Linked DNA regions of Homo sapiens: region 2 is linked to region 1. The links are contacts of gene promoters, found by promoter capture Hi-C in blood cells and fetal thymus (Javierre and others, 2016). All regions are on one chromosome and are shown on one strand. Each heading gives the region's core, a stretch centred on a gene start or on the middle of the fragment in contact. The rest is flanking DNA. Distances are from core to core; before and after follow the strand shown. Region 1 holds the start of DLG3 (discs large MAGUK scaffold protein 3). Region 2 has its middle 7.7 kb from the start of NALF2.

Evidence for each region. Contacts are between HindIII fragments. The CHiCAGO score rates a contact against its expected background, and 5 or more counts as called.
Region 2: a contact is called between a fragment that was not itself captured here and the fragment with the promoter of DLG3 in region 1, in 1 of 17 cell types (naive CD4 T cells). The highest score is 6.1, in naive CD4 T cells.

Annotation. Positions count from the first base shown.
Region 1 is chrX:70,441,279-70,448,702 of GRCh38, forward strand. It overlaps DLG3 (discs large MAGUK scaffold protein 3), which reads left to right and starts at 3,557. Exons shown (of 19, transcript NM_021120.4): 1 at 3,557-4,280. The coding sequence starts at 3,924. RefSeq lists an enhancer at 3,075-3,861. The HindIII fragment of the contact is 21,076 bases long and covers 1-7,424 here.
Region 2 is chrX:69,492,906-69,500,265 of GRCh38, forward strand. No RefSeq gene overlaps it. Among named protein-coding and RNA genes, the nearest start is that of NALF2, 7.7 kb to the right of the region's middle. The HindIII fragment of the contact is 167 bases long and covers 4,323-4,489 here.

The sequences.
Region 1 (7,424 bases), core at 2,307-4,806:
ATTAACCAGGAGTGGTGTGCGCCTATAGTCCCACCTACTGAGGAGCCTGCTTGGGAGACTGAGGCAGGAGGATCACTTTGAGGCCAGGAGTTTCAAGGCTGCAGTGAACTATGGTCACACCACTGCACTCCAGCATGCTATATCTGGTGAAAATATCCTTCAGGAATGAGGGGGAAATCAAGACATTCTCAGACAAAGGAAAGCTAAGATAATTTGTTGCCAGCAGACAAAGAATGGCTAAAGGAAGTTATCAAAACTTACAGATGAATAATGGAACCATTTACATGTAATGAAACTTACATGTAAATGGTTCAGAAAAAGGGATAGATAGATAGATAGATAGATAGATAGATAGATAGAGCATTAACTGGGCATGGTGGCACACACCTGTGGTCCCAGCCACTTGTGAGGCTGAGGTGGGAGGATTGCTTGAGCCCGGGAGTTTGAGGTTGCAGTGAGCCATGATCACGCCACTGCACTCTAACCTGAGTGAGTGAGCAAGACCTACTCTTTAAAAAATATAGATAGATGGATAGATACATAGATACATAGACAGAGCAAATATAACAATCAAAACAAGTCAAATTGTCGACTTGATAAGGAAGGCATACAGTGGTGTCCATTGTACTACTCTTCCAATATTTTTGTATGTTTGTAAATTTTCATTTTTAAAACTGTTGGAGAGGATATGTGGAGGATAGATATATGATAAAGCAAGCATAGCAAAATGTTAATGAGAATCCTAGGCAGTGGGTAATTGGATGTTCACTGTAAAATTCTTTGAATTTTTCTGTATGTTTGAAAACTTTCATATTAAACTGTGGGGGCAAAAAACTTGAAAAAAAAATCACAACTTGGTATCCTCCCCTACCATTCCCAATCCATCTTACTGTGCTCTACTTTTTATTTTTTTCCATGGCACTTATCACCATATACACAGCAGGTGTATATGCTGAATAATGTTGTTTTCTTCAACATCATTTTGTTTTAACATTGATGAGGGGGAAAAAAAAACAACTAAAACGATTCCTGGCCAGAGCCACTGTCTGTGTGGAGTTTGCACACTCTCCCCATGTATGTGTGGGTTTTCTCGGGTATTCCAGGGTACTGCGCTTCCTCCCACATCCCAGTGCACGTTAGGTGAATTGGCGTGTCTAAATTGTCCCAGTGTGAGTGAGTGTGGGTGTGTATGTGAGCGCACCCTGTGATGGAATGGCATCCTGTCCAGGATTGGTTCCTGCCCTGTACCCTGAGCTGCTGTGATAGGCTGTGGCCACCCTTGACCCTGAACTGAAATAAGCAGATTGAAAAATGAATGAATGGATGGATGGATGGATGGATGGATGGATACAAAGTACTGTAAAATAAAAATTTGTCAAGTAGTTGATAATCATACAAATGCACAATAAACTATGAGGTAAGAAAGTGCTCATCGAGCTCACCATATTCGTGATTGTTTGCTTTTGAACTGCATGGTGGTAGGGAGGTGCTCCTTACAATTTTCGCTTTGCATACATTTATTCCTTGATTCAACCCACCACCACTTCCACTGCTGTCACTCACTGGTTCACCAAAGGTTAGGTAATTATTTACTTGTTTTCATTAATCTTTCTATATGTATGCATAGCTCATATTTATTTCAATGTTCAATATCAGAAGTGTTTTGGGTCTTTATTTGGAAGCTGGGTGATGTTTTGTGACCAGAAATATGCTGTAGGAACTTAGCTCTTGTTTATATTAATTAGCCTGTGGTAAAATTGGTTTTGTTATACGTTGTTTCACTTAGTCCCAGTTGCCAAGGACCTACCAATGATGTTAAATGAGGACCTACTGTACTACATAATTCACTTATTTATTGTGTTTATTTTTGTCTGTGTCCTCTCACTAGGAGGTAAGCTCCCCAAGGGCAGGGATTTGTTCTGTTTGTTCTGTTTTATTTTGTTTCCTGCTATATCCCCAAATCCTACAACAGTGTCTGGCACACAGCAAGTGTTCCACGCATATTTGTTGAATTAAGAATGAATCTCTGAGGGCCGGGCACAGTGGATCACACCTGCAATCCCAGCACTTTGGGAGGCCAAGGTGGGTGGATCACTTGACGTCGGGAGTTCGAGACCAGCCTGGCCAACGTGATGAAACCCCATCTCTACTAAGAAAATACAAAAATTAGCCGGGCGTGGTGGCAGGAGCCTGTAGTCCTAGCTACTAGGGAGACTGAGAGGCAGGAGAATCGTTTGAACCTGGGAAGCTGAGGTTGCAGTGAGCTGAGATCACGCCACTGCACTCCAGCCTGGGTGACAGAATGAGAATCCATCTCAAAAAAAAAAAAAAAAAAAAAAAAGAACCTCTGTATCCCTAATACCTAGGTCAAGGTCTTGCACAGAGCAGGTGCTCAATGAATATTTGCTGAATTGAACTGAGATGTAAATTCTGCAGGAGAACTTAGAATAGACCTGTCGTACTAGAGTGGTTCACAGCGTGGACTCTGGAGTCAAATAATCAGGATTTGCATCCTGATTCTGTCACTTCCAGCTGTGTTACCTAGCTGTGTTAACATCTTTGAGCCTCAATTTCTCATTGGTAAAATGAAGATAATAATAGCATCAGCTTGGTAGGATTTGGGTTTGCGTGTTATGCACTTAGGACTTTGTAAAGACCCAATAATTGGTAGCTAAAAACAAAACAAGAACTGCAAAAAAGATAGTCTTTCTTGTATGTCATCCTTCCTCCATTCCCCCGACAAGCTGAGCCAGGAGAGGGTAAGGAGATGTCCTTGGACAAGTATTCCTAAGCTCTATTCCAGACCCATAGAAGGGTTTCTCTCTCTTCAAATCCCTTCTTACCTTTTCACCTGTCCTGGACTTTCATCTTGATATCCTGAAGTTCCTTCCCCCATCATAACCATGCAGGGGTGGAGTGGAGGAGATAGGGGTTTGTGGGCCAGGGACAAGGACTTAGAGCTTTCTGTTAATCCCTGTTCTAGGGTTGAGTTCTTTACTGGTGATGGTAGAAGGTCAAGTGTGAGGTCACAGTAATTTCAGGGCCTAGAGACTGAGAGAACAATAGTCTTGTGTAGGAGGCATTGACAGGACAGCGGGCCTCATATGCTGCCTTCTTCTTTGGTCCCCTGTAAGAGAAAGCACCTCCCTCACCCTGCTCCAACGTCCTTTCTGTCCATCCTGCTACCTCGTCTTTACTTCTGGTGGCCCCAGCTCAGAGCAAGCCTGGGGACCCATTGAACATCTCCCTGCAACTCCCTCTTGGAAGTGGGGTGGGGTGGAGTGGGCAGAGGACAGGCTAAAACTGGCGATATAAGGGCACAAGATCGGGTGCCTGAGCTTTCTGGTGGCCCACGTCCTCTGCCCCCGCCCTTAGAGCCAACAGTTCCCTAGAGATTGGGGGAGCTGGGGCTGAGCCTGGGGGCGCCGCTGCCTCTGTTCCTTTAAGTAGCCGCTGTTTAGCATTCCTGCCGCCGCCGCTGCCGCTGCCGCTGCCTGCCTCTGCGCGCTGATTGGCTGGAATCAACTGAGAAGGGAGCCAGGGAGAGATGCTCTTGACTCCACTCAGATCCATCCTGGGGACCAGAGCAGAAGCGGTCCTCACAGCACCCATTCTCTGCTTGAGCTCCCGCTTCTTCTTTGCCGCTGGGCCTCGGCCCAGAAGCCACGACGGGCGACACGGAGCCGCCAGTGCTGGAGGGGGAGCCGTGGGTGCGGGGCAGCGTGGGGGCCGAGGCCCCGGGACGCCCGCCCGGCCCCAGGCCCCGCTCAGCCCGGGCGCCCCCACGGGTGCCCCCCCCTTCTTGGTCCGAGCAGTGTGAGTGTGCCAGGGAGCCCGGCGGCGGCGGCGGCGGTGGTGGCGGCGGTGGCGGCGGCGTGGAATCCGGCGTGGGCTGGGGGGTCCGAGCCGCGGGGGGCAGTGCCATGCACAAGCACCAGCACTGCTGTAAGTGCCCTGAGTGCTATGAGGTGACCCGCCTGGCCGCCCTGCGGCGCCTCGAGCCTCCGGGCTACGGCGACTGGCAAGTCCCCGACCCTTACGGGCCAGGTGGGGGCAACGGCGCCAGCGCGGGTTATGGGGGCTACAGCTCGCAGACCTTGCCCTCGCAGGCGGGGGCCACCCCCACCCCTCGCACCAAGGCCAAGCTCATCCCCACCGGCCGGGATGTGGGGCCGGTGCCTCCTAAGCCAGTCCCGGGCAAGAGCACCCCCAAACTCAACGGCAGCGGCCCCAGCTGGTGGCCAGAGTGCACCTGTACCAACCGGGACTGGTATGAGCAGGTATGGACCAGCGGAGGGGGGAGCGGTGGGGCAACCCAGGAGGGCTGGAGAGTGGGGGCCTAGAGGCCTGGGATGCAGTAGGGGTCGCTGGGGCTCCAAGCCTGTGGACCCCGAGCCCTAGCATTGCAGCTGGGCAAAGAGAGGCGGTGGGAAATGTGTGGTTCCCTGTGTGTGTCTGTTTGGGGGTCTCCATTAGAAGACTGGGAGGAGCCGTGTGTCAGGGGGTAAGGGCATGGCGGAGGGGCACATTTTCCTGTGTGGGGGAATTGGGTTTGTCTCAGTGTGGGGGTTTGGCAATGTCTCTGTGTCTGGCAGGGGGCGGGAGGTTCTGCGGGGGCTGTGTGTGGTGTGTGTCTCCACCGGAGGGGAGGGGAGGGGGCATGGTGCTCTGCGTAGGGGGGACATATGTGTGTGTATGTATGTTGGGGTGTGTGGAGGAAGGCAATGGAGCTGCCGTGAATCCGTGTGGAGGAGCCCATGTGCCCGGCTCGCTGAGCTTCATCCCTTGATGCCATGAGTCCCTCTCCGTCCCAGTCCCTTTGTGTGTGAATGTGCACATGGATGTGTGGAGATGTCACTCTGAATGTGGAGAGGTCTCTGTAGAGGAGGCTGCAGGGATGGCTGTGTTTGTGTGTGTGGCTACATGTATATGTGTGTGAGCATGTGGCTGCAAGAGTGTGCACGCGTGTGCCTGGTGTGTGTGTGTGAGTGTGTGTTTGTATGTGTTGTCTCTGGTGAGAGGCGCTTGACAGGCAAGGGAGGGGAGAGGAAGGAGGCGAGAGACATGTCCCAAGCAAGGCTGAGAGGCTGCTGAGAAGGACGGACTCTTTTGTCCAAGCAGCTCTGTAGTGTGTGTGCCGGGGTGGGGTGGCGGGGGGCGGGGGGAGATTTGAAGGAACTGAAGCAAGCCTCCTCGCTCTAGAGCAGGCATGGTGCCTGGAGCCGGCAAGGGGCAGCTGCCCTGGTGCAGAGACTGGCCCCAGTGGGGCATGTCCCCCTTGGGTACCTCCAGATGTGAGAGGGCTTAGCCCCCCAGCCCTGACTTGGCACAGCTTGGGAGCCCCTGGGTGCTGGGCACAACTCCGGCTTCCACTCCCAGCCTAAACTGCCAGCTTAGAAAATGGAAGGAGCATCTGTGGGAGAAGCAGCAAAATGGAGGCTGGGCTGGCAGAGCCAGGTCCCTGGCACGCAAGGCGGAGGGCCTGTCTGGTTATCCGGCTCTGCAGCTCCTAGGGTGGGGAGAGAGGAAGAGGAGGCTTTGCTGTCGAGGGCAGGTGATGACTTCCCCAAGCTGGTGACCGTTCTGGCTGCCTCTGTCCTCTGGGGATAGGATGTGCTCTCACTCAGAGGCAAAGGTGGGGACTTCCTGGGGAGAAGAGCCCTCAGTTCTGGCCTTCTGTCTGTCCACACTTACTGCTTTCCCACATCCCTTGCCTTGGCCTCTTGCCCTTTCCAGCGAGTCCCTCTCTCTCCTTTGCCCCCTCTCTGTCCTGGAGGCCTTTCTCTCGCAAACACCCTCTTATGCTTGTCCTGCCCGGCTGGGAGACAGGTGGCAATCCCAGGCTGGGCCAGTTGGCCAAGGTTTCTTTGCCAGGGCTGATCCCTGGATGGCTCCTGGCCCTGAGAACAAGGTCCTTGAGTAGGGGTGGGGGCTAGAGCGTGGACCACTGGGAACGGGAAGCCTCTGGGTACCACTGGGGCTGGGCTTGAGGCATGGCTTGTCACATGTGGGCACACATGGTACACCAAATGCACACAAGAGCCACATGGGTGTCCCTTTGCTTATGTGTCTGTTGCATGGTACTTAAGGCAGCTGTGTTGGTTTCGGGTCTCTAAGGAGCCTTCAGTTCTTCTTCCTGGGGTCACAGACCAGGGTAAGGCTGTAGCTGGAGTCCTCCCACCAACTCCCACAGCTGCAGAGCCAGCCCAGAAATGGTGGAGGCATGATGAGCTAGTCCTCTCTCCCTCTCCTCCTCTCTGCTTCTTGAAGCCAAAGCTGTGTGGGGTGGAGGTGGGACGGGGGAAGCACAGCAGGACATGTGGAGGAGCCCCCACCCTGGTTTCCAGCTCCCCACTTCTGAGGAGGAGGCTAGAGGTCAGGGAAGGGACAACATAGCCAGAGAAAGGTGGGGGAGGGGTGCCAGGGTACCTGGGGAGACAGGCAAGAGGGCTTCTCCATTCTTGGAGGTGAAAGTGGGAGCCAGCAGGCAGGTGCTGCTTGTATGTCCAGAATCACATTTTCACTTGACAAATAGATACACACATGTCCTGTCTGGGAGGCCATCTCTGTGGGTTGGCCAAATCACCCCTGTGTTTCTGACCCCTTCCCTTGCCTCTTCTTGCATGGCTACTACATATTGAAAACCATGGACTCTGCTGCCAATCAGCCTGTGGGTCACCAACTTCTCCCTCATGGGGAATCTTGTCTACCCTGCTCCAGTCCCACCCGTGGCTTTGTCTCTGACTCCTGACCAGATCCCACCCTCGCCCTTTCTGCTGGGAAAAACAAAGGGCTCAGAATCAAAAATCCTTTGGTAGAAAATGGATTAGGACTTTGACTCCTTCTGCCTATTTGAGGAATTGGGTTCCTGGAGTCCAAGAAAGAGGTATAGAGTGAAGACTCACGAGGTGCTCCAAAGTGGGGCAACTGTCCTTTTTCCCATGAGCTCTGCTGGGGTACGGGGATGAGTGACCAAAACATCAGTGGCCTTAAGAGCTTACTGTAATCAAAAGAACACCTGGATATCCTATTGCTCTGTCACTAATTCCCAGTGTGCCCTTAGGCACATCCCATGTCTTCTCTGGGCCTCCGTGTCACCTACTGTCACATAAAGGGGATAGGACAAGATGATGTCTGCTGTCCTTCCAGTTCGGACACAGTGGGAGTCTATGATCCCCCAGTCAGGGAGAACTGTGGTTCAGAAGGGGAAGGGTTATCTGTCTAGGCCACTGGGTATCCCCTATGGACACTGGGTGTGGCATGGTTTGCCTGCCATGCTCCATCTCTGCCATCCCCCTTAGGCCAGGCCTGCACCCCTCCTAGTGAACCCTGAGACACTGAAGCACAGCCTCTCGGTGAGTGCACCACTGGCTGGCTCAGTCTCAGACAATTGATCTGGGCTAAATGAGCAGCTTGGTTTGGGC
Region 2 (7,360 bases), core at 3,156-5,655, 950 kb before region 1:
CTACCAGGCAAAGCAATAGAAGCTGAGTCATGGTTTCTGGATTAGCTTCGAGGAATAACTTGGGAAGGGTCATGCTCCTCAGACTTTGACATGGTTGCTTGGGGATCTTAGGGGCTTCAGGCTGATGATTTTTGAGCCTGTAAGAGAAGTCATCCTATTTCCAGTGTTTTGAACCCCTTCCTTCTCCTATGACTTCCCACATCCCCAGATGAGCTGGTGAGCAGCACCACCTCCCAGTCATGACCCTGAACCTCATCAGTCCCAAGATTTGACTGAGTTTCATCCTGCCTGTCTCAAGACAGAGCAACATTCCTGAAGCACTGCAGAGAGTGTGGGGGTGGCTATAAGGAGCTGGAGAAAGTGGCCAGAAATTTGGGATTCTGACAACCTTTCATCAGAAGTCACCTCAGGTGAGGAAAAATAACCTCAGTTACCATGTGGGGGCAGCAGAGGCCAGTTAAAAAACCTGGAGCCTGGACTAGGCGTTCCTGGGTTAAAAGGTTTCGGTCTGTGCGGGGAGTCATGTCGAGTCTGCTCAGTCCCAGGCCAGCATTACCTCCCTGCAGGCCAGCGCAGACCTGGCCCAATGTGGGGAGGGGGTGTTCCAAAGCAGTCAGAGAAGTCCAAAAAGAGGAAAGGTTCCAGGACAGTAGGGCAGCCTTGAAGACCCAAAATGCCACAATAGACAAGTCCAAAGCATAGTAAGGGAAGAGAGCAGTTATTTACATATAATTTCGTTCAGTCCTTACTGTGAGTATGCACAGAAATCTCTCCCTCCCTAACTGATTCTCACATAGATACATTCTTCTCCACTTTTGATATTCTTGGCTGACCTCTCCTAGCCTAGAACTCCTGTTCAGAACAGCTACCTCAGCTTCTGCCCCAGATCACCCTAGCAATAACTTTTCCATGTCCATCATGCTGGCCTTTAATGCCTGGAAGAACCACCTTCTTACCTTTATGGTCCATGAATTTAGGGTATCCGGATATTGTAAGAATGCAACTCAGGGATTCAGGGAAGAGTGTCATCCTCCCCCTGGGTACACAAGAAGGGTGAGTCATCAGTGATTTCTTGGGGAAGAGGGTGAGGCTGGTAACCAGTGCTAGCTTGATTTGTTACAAAACTCAGAAAACAATGGCTATCTACATTCTACAAATGAGCCTGAAAGCCAGAAAAACTCCAGAAAGACAAGGCCTTACTGGGAGAGTCCAAAAGCAAGCTCAGACTTCAGAGAAGAAAGAGGGAGCCTGTTAACTGACGTGTTGGGAGTTCAAGATGCCATCCACTCTGGAGACCACATACCTGATAGAATAAACAAACCCAGATATTAGTTTAGACCAACCAGTGAATGTGCTGAGCATCCCTGAGGAATGTCCTGGAGAAGCCTCACTGTTTTTCCTCCTGCGCTTCCATACCCATGTGTCAGGGTCAGATGAACTTCGAGTGGTTTCCTGGCTTCCTTCCTGCAGGCCTAGAGACTTCCATCCTGAAAGCTGCCATTAACACATTATCCCTTTGGGTGGGTCACATCTCTCCTTTGGACTGGGTCAAGAGTGAGAAAAAGTTGCCCTGGCCCTCCCCCAAAGATAATTCTGAAGATAACCCTCAGGTAAAGGGCTCTACTGGCCATCATGAAGGCAAAACAGGACAGAAGTAACAAAAGCAACATATTGCACATACTAGGTTTGGTGAATTGTTACAGTGGAATAAATGTAAAGTGACAAAGGATCCACCTTCCAAAGTTTCCAGATAGTTGGAAGTTGGGCTCTATCTCCTGATCCCTTCTACGATGGCCACTGGAAGCTGCTAGGCTTCTTTCCTCTGCACTCCTTGGAGGGAGATCATCTCCCTCTAATCCCCCCACCCACATTTCACCCAACCCATCCCTGAAGCAAGGGCATGCAGGCCTCTTTTCTCTGCATGAGGAATCTGTATTTCAGAGGATGTTCACCCTGGGGAATGAGGAGGAGCACCCAACCCACAAGCCTTTGCTATACATAGAAATCTTCCCCTCTGGGAGTTTCCTCCCAGCAGATAACCAGACTTAATAACCTGCTGGTGAATGTGTCTCAGGCAGCATAAAAGAATAGAAAGACATCATGAGAGAAGAAAAAGGGAGGGCTTATTCTCTCCAACAAAGAACAGTTCAGGGAGGTCTAATATGTACTGAGGACCATATATAAGACACTTTAAGGTCATCATGACATTTTTTCTGCACAACAACCTTACGAAGTAACTATTTCTCCCCGTTTTTTTAACTGATAGGAAAACTGGCTCTGATTCTTTGTGCTCAGAAGTGCTAGGCTGGGTTGTAAACCCAGGCCTGCCTGATTCCAAAGTTAATGCTGTTTTAAAATACCAAAGTGCTGATTTATGAAGAGAGTGGGAGCTGATTGAGGCAACTGCGAGATCACTGGACCAGGACCCAAGCCACAGGAGGAGAACCACAGATCCTCCAGCAGACAGGACAGCCACAAAGCTGAAGTGCTTTGGCTTTGTGGAGGGCATATGCCAGAGTATTGCCCTCCCTCCAACACAGAGGCAGTAGAGGAGCAGGTTGTTGGAGAAGCCCCCAAGCCAGGGAAACCCAGGTTTTCCTTGGGCCCAAAGTCCCAGGTCACACATGGGTCAGTGTCCAAGGTGACTTGGACTCTAGTGCTCTGCCCAGATTTACTGCCTCAAGACCTCTACTCAGCTTCCTTCTATACTTAGCTCTACTGATAACAGGAGATGAGTCTGACCGTGACTTCACACTGAGTTGTGGAGGATGGAGCTCCTTCCTTACGCCCTGGCCCTAACTTTCACCACTTTCAGGAGGCAGTTGCCTCCAATGTGATGAGGCAGGAAGCTACAGAGAGGGGCTTTCTGGCCTTGACAAGCAATCTGCACCAGATCCAGGACCAGGAGCCTTTTGGCCAAGGCCTTGCCCTGCCTGGGAAGCAGACTCCAGAGAGGATCTGAAGAGCAGTGCTAGAGGGGTCCCATCTACCCATTACCAGATGGAAAATCTACCTCTATCTTGACAGGTATGTCTCATGTTCACCCATTAAAAAGTACTCAGTGAAGAAAGAAGCTGCTTCCCTTGAAAGGAGAAACTCATAGCACTGAAGAGAGAATCTATGGAAGAAGCAGCTCTAGTTTTCCCCCAACTCTGACCCTTTGAATTTCTCCTTTCCCCTTAGGGCCCTAGGTCTCCGTCTGATCTCACCATCATCACTTCCTTGGTAAAACAGAACCTGGGGGCTCCCAGGTTGAAGCAACGAATATCTTGGGGAGGAGGCATGCAGGAGAGAAGCTCTCATTCCCAGTACCCCCACAGTGAACTCCATGGTAGGGCTTGGCCTCTTTCTTTTTGCCCCTGCTGCCACATACTACATGCCCCAGCGATGTGTCACTCTCTTTTTAAGACTCTGGCCTGAGAGAGGCACAAAGCCTATCCTTGGCTTTCCCTGGGCACAGTAGAGTGAGCAGGAAGCAACTGCACAAAGAACTTTCTGAAGCAGTCTGGGAGAAGGAGAGGGACATGCCAGAAACCCAAACAGTCCAGCTTTCACAGCACATGTCTCAGAGCCAACCACAGCCAAGTTTTCTCTGAGACTCACACATTCTGTCTGTACTATATTCAGGCTCCAAAGCAGCAGAAGGCTGGCTCCTTCCCTCTCCATTCCTGACCTGTGCTCACAGGGTAGGCACCTCTTACCTCCAACCTCAGGGGGCAAGTGTTTGAGGGCTGGGTTCCCTCCCTGGCCAGTACTACAGAAACCTGCGTCACAGTCTTCTTGGAGTCCTCCCCCTCAGCTCTGGTTCCCTCTCTGAAGAATGCATTTCTTTTCCAGGTGATCCTTAGGACTCAGTTGTTGATTGATACCATTTATTAACTGACAGTTCAAGTGAGTGCCAACCCCCTACGTTGAGGGGTTTGGCTATGACCTTTATAGGCCCCACAGTCTGACAACACTGTAGCCCTATGAGACCTTTAACATCCAAATATCAAGAGTTACCCACACATGTACAACAAGGGTCTGATTTCATCAGAGTTGGCATCTTAATTCTCTGTACTGTGAAGTGTGGGGACTTGCATTCAGCCCAAAACAATAACCTTTATTAAAAACTCTTTGGATATACCTGAACCACTGTACTTTCATCCTTGCTATGAGAGGCATAAGAAATAGCTTTCAATTTAAGCAGGAAAAATGAAAATTGGAAACAAGATTTCCAGTGAATCTTGAAACTGAGAGAGCTTTGAAAATTAAAGACCCTCTACCTATGGCAATCTTTAACATAGGAAAAAATGGTCCTCCAAAGTATAAACTAGAAGAGAAGCTTTTGTGGGAAGGAAAGAAATGAATGAGGTAATCTCAATGTGACTAAAATCCTAAAGTGCTTTTCTCCATGGCTTTTCCATCCTAGAGGGTGTCTGAATTCCCTTTGCTCAAGCCACCCTCTCTATGCATCAAATCATAGAATCACAAAACCTTGGATGTCAAAAGCTTTAGAGATCATCTTGTGGCTATATCACCATAAGCAGTCATTCAACTTCTCCTTAGATATCTGCTTGAAGATACCTTCATTGAGAGGAATTCATTATCTCTGGAGGCAGACATGAGAGAATAACCTTCTGTTTCTACATGGTGTGGGTCATGTTTGGTATTAAAACACAGTCATGCTAGCAGATTCATTAAGGTAAAGCCATACTCCTCTAATGGAATTGGGATGGTCTCACTTTCTCACTTGAAATGTTTATTAATTAATTAATTCTAAATACGGAGCATCTATGTGCTAGGCATTGTGTTTGCAGCTAGAGAAACAAGGAGGAACAAAAACAGACATGGTTCCTGTTCTGAAGGATTCTGGAGTGTAGTGGGAGAGACAGTGATTAACCAAGGAATCACGCAAATAAGGGTGTAAATGCATCTAAGATAAGTGCTATGAAGAAAGGAAGACAGTTCTACAAGGGATCTAACAAGGGAACCTGACCTAGCCTGCAGGAACTAGTCAAGGAAATCTTCCCTGAGGAAGTGATGCTGGAACTGGAATCTGAGTATTAAGTAGGATTAGCCAGGCAAAGTGGCTAGAGGTAGGGAGTAAAGAGAGTGTTTCAGGCAAAAGAAACAGCATGTGCAAAGCTCCTGTGGCCAAAAAGACATGGCATTTGGAACTCAAAGGTGGCCAGTGTGGGCCAGGCATGGTGGCTCACACCTGCAATTCCAGAACTTTGGGAGGCCTAGGCAGGAGGATCACTTGAGGCCATTCTCAGGTATTCTGTTAGAGCAACACAAAATGGACTAAGACATAAGATTATTGGCTAAGAGTGAGAGGGTGGACACAGGGGTTGGAGGTTTAAGAAAAGAATGGAGAAGATTTGAAATAGTCATCCTGGAGAATGAAAAGTACTAAAGAAATTTAGTACCTGTTTGGATTGTGAAGCAATGTTGAAGGCTTGATTGAGATTGGTGATTTATAGTGGAGCAGGTCCCGTTTGTGACAATGGAGGTGGGTGGCTGAGGTAGAGTGGAAGAGATGGGGCAGTTTAGGAACCGGGAAGCCCAGGTGATGGCTGAATTTTAATTTGTATACTGAAGTCCCCTAGGATGATGGCGGGCCTTGCAGTCAGGGGTGGGGAAGCCAGTGAGACAGAAACCAAATCCTTCATTTGGTTTCAGTAGCTGCAGGGTCTGTACACTCCAAGCTCTGGAGTAGTGGTGAGCCTAGAGGTAGCCATCTAGGTACCTTTGTGGCCTAGAGTGGGATGGATCCTAGGGTGAGGCCACTCTGTCAACTTAGGGATAAGGTCAGATTCCTCATATTAGAAAGTAAAAGTGAAAGGGCCCAAGGTGGGTTAAAATGTGAACATTTACTTCTCTTGGTTTTGACTGAGAAGATATTAAAATATCTAGGAGGAATCTCCTGGGTTTAAGTCCATGTCCCAGCCCCATCTATCCCAGCTCACCCACAGCTGCCAAACAATCAAGAAGTTGAAAATGTTATTTGGTGTTTGAATCTTGGCAATTACCCAGAATCACTAAGTTTATTCTGAGAAGAGATCAAGTAGTCATGAACTCCGGAACCAGACTGCATATACTCAAATTCTCCCTTCGCCACTTGCCAACTGCATGACCTTAGACAAGTGACTTAACCTGTCTGTACCTCAGTGTCTAGAAAATAGAGACAACGGTAGATCTACCCCACATAATTGTTGTCATAGAGGGTTAAGTGGCTTAAAATATGTAAATGCTTAGAATAGTACCTGGTGCATGTTAAGCACTATGTAACTGTTCATTTTTATTGTTATTGACTCTCTCCCAATTCACTCAATGTCTCTCTCATTCACTCAATCACTTGATACTACCCTGCTTGCTGGAATCTCCCTGGCTCTGAACCCTAACCTGAATAACTACTTTTGATCCTTCCCCTATGCAGTTTCTTTCCCGGGTCTGTTTACCTCTAGACGAAATAAGCTCGGGGCCTTCAAATGTTCCTCGTATGACGTGACCACTAGTGCACTAGCCCAGCGACTTACCTTTGGACATCTTGCATCTTGTCATTGTATCCTAGCTTAAATGGGTTGTTCAGAATGGAGCACAGTGCTCCAGGTAGGACATGACAAGTGTAGGGAAGGGCAGAACCATCTCTTCTCTTGTTCTGGTTCTCTACTTATATTAATGCAGCCTAAAATCTAATTAGCTCTGTTGGCAGCACCATCACTCTGTTGGCTCACATTGACTTTACAATCAAATCAAGGTCTTTTTCACATGTGCTGTTGTTAAACCAGGCAGAGCTCTTCTATCCTGTGCTAGAGGAATAAACCCGGCTGTAGTTGCTAGGAGAAAGTCAAGTCTAGTAGCCAAAAGCCCAGTGTCTTAGGGGTTTAGTTCAGGCAAGAAATTGGTGGTTAGGGTTCATGGCAGTTGCTACTCACTGCCTGCCTAATAATGATTTTTCTCTTCTTCCTTACTTATAGAATCCCAATTTTGTTCAGGGCAGCAGTGTGCCCAGCTAAAAGTACTGGATTTCCCAGCTTCCTTTGCAGCTAGGAATGTCCTTATGACATGGTTCTAGTCAGAGATGTAGGTGGATGTCACTGGAGAGGGCGTTCCATTTGGAATAAAAATGTAAAGCCCCTCTAGAAGATCCTTTGTCCTTAGCCTTCTTGCCCCCTAGCTCTTTCCCTTCTTCTTCTCTAGAATGCAGACATGAGGCTTAGAGCTGTAGCAGCCATGTTGTGACCATGAGGCAAAAAGCAAGTGGATGAAAGCCTACCTTAAGATGGTGGAGATGAAAAACCAGGGTCTTGATGGCATCGTTGAACTGCCACATCAGTCCTATCTGGGCCTTCCATCAAGGAAATTTTTGTTGAAT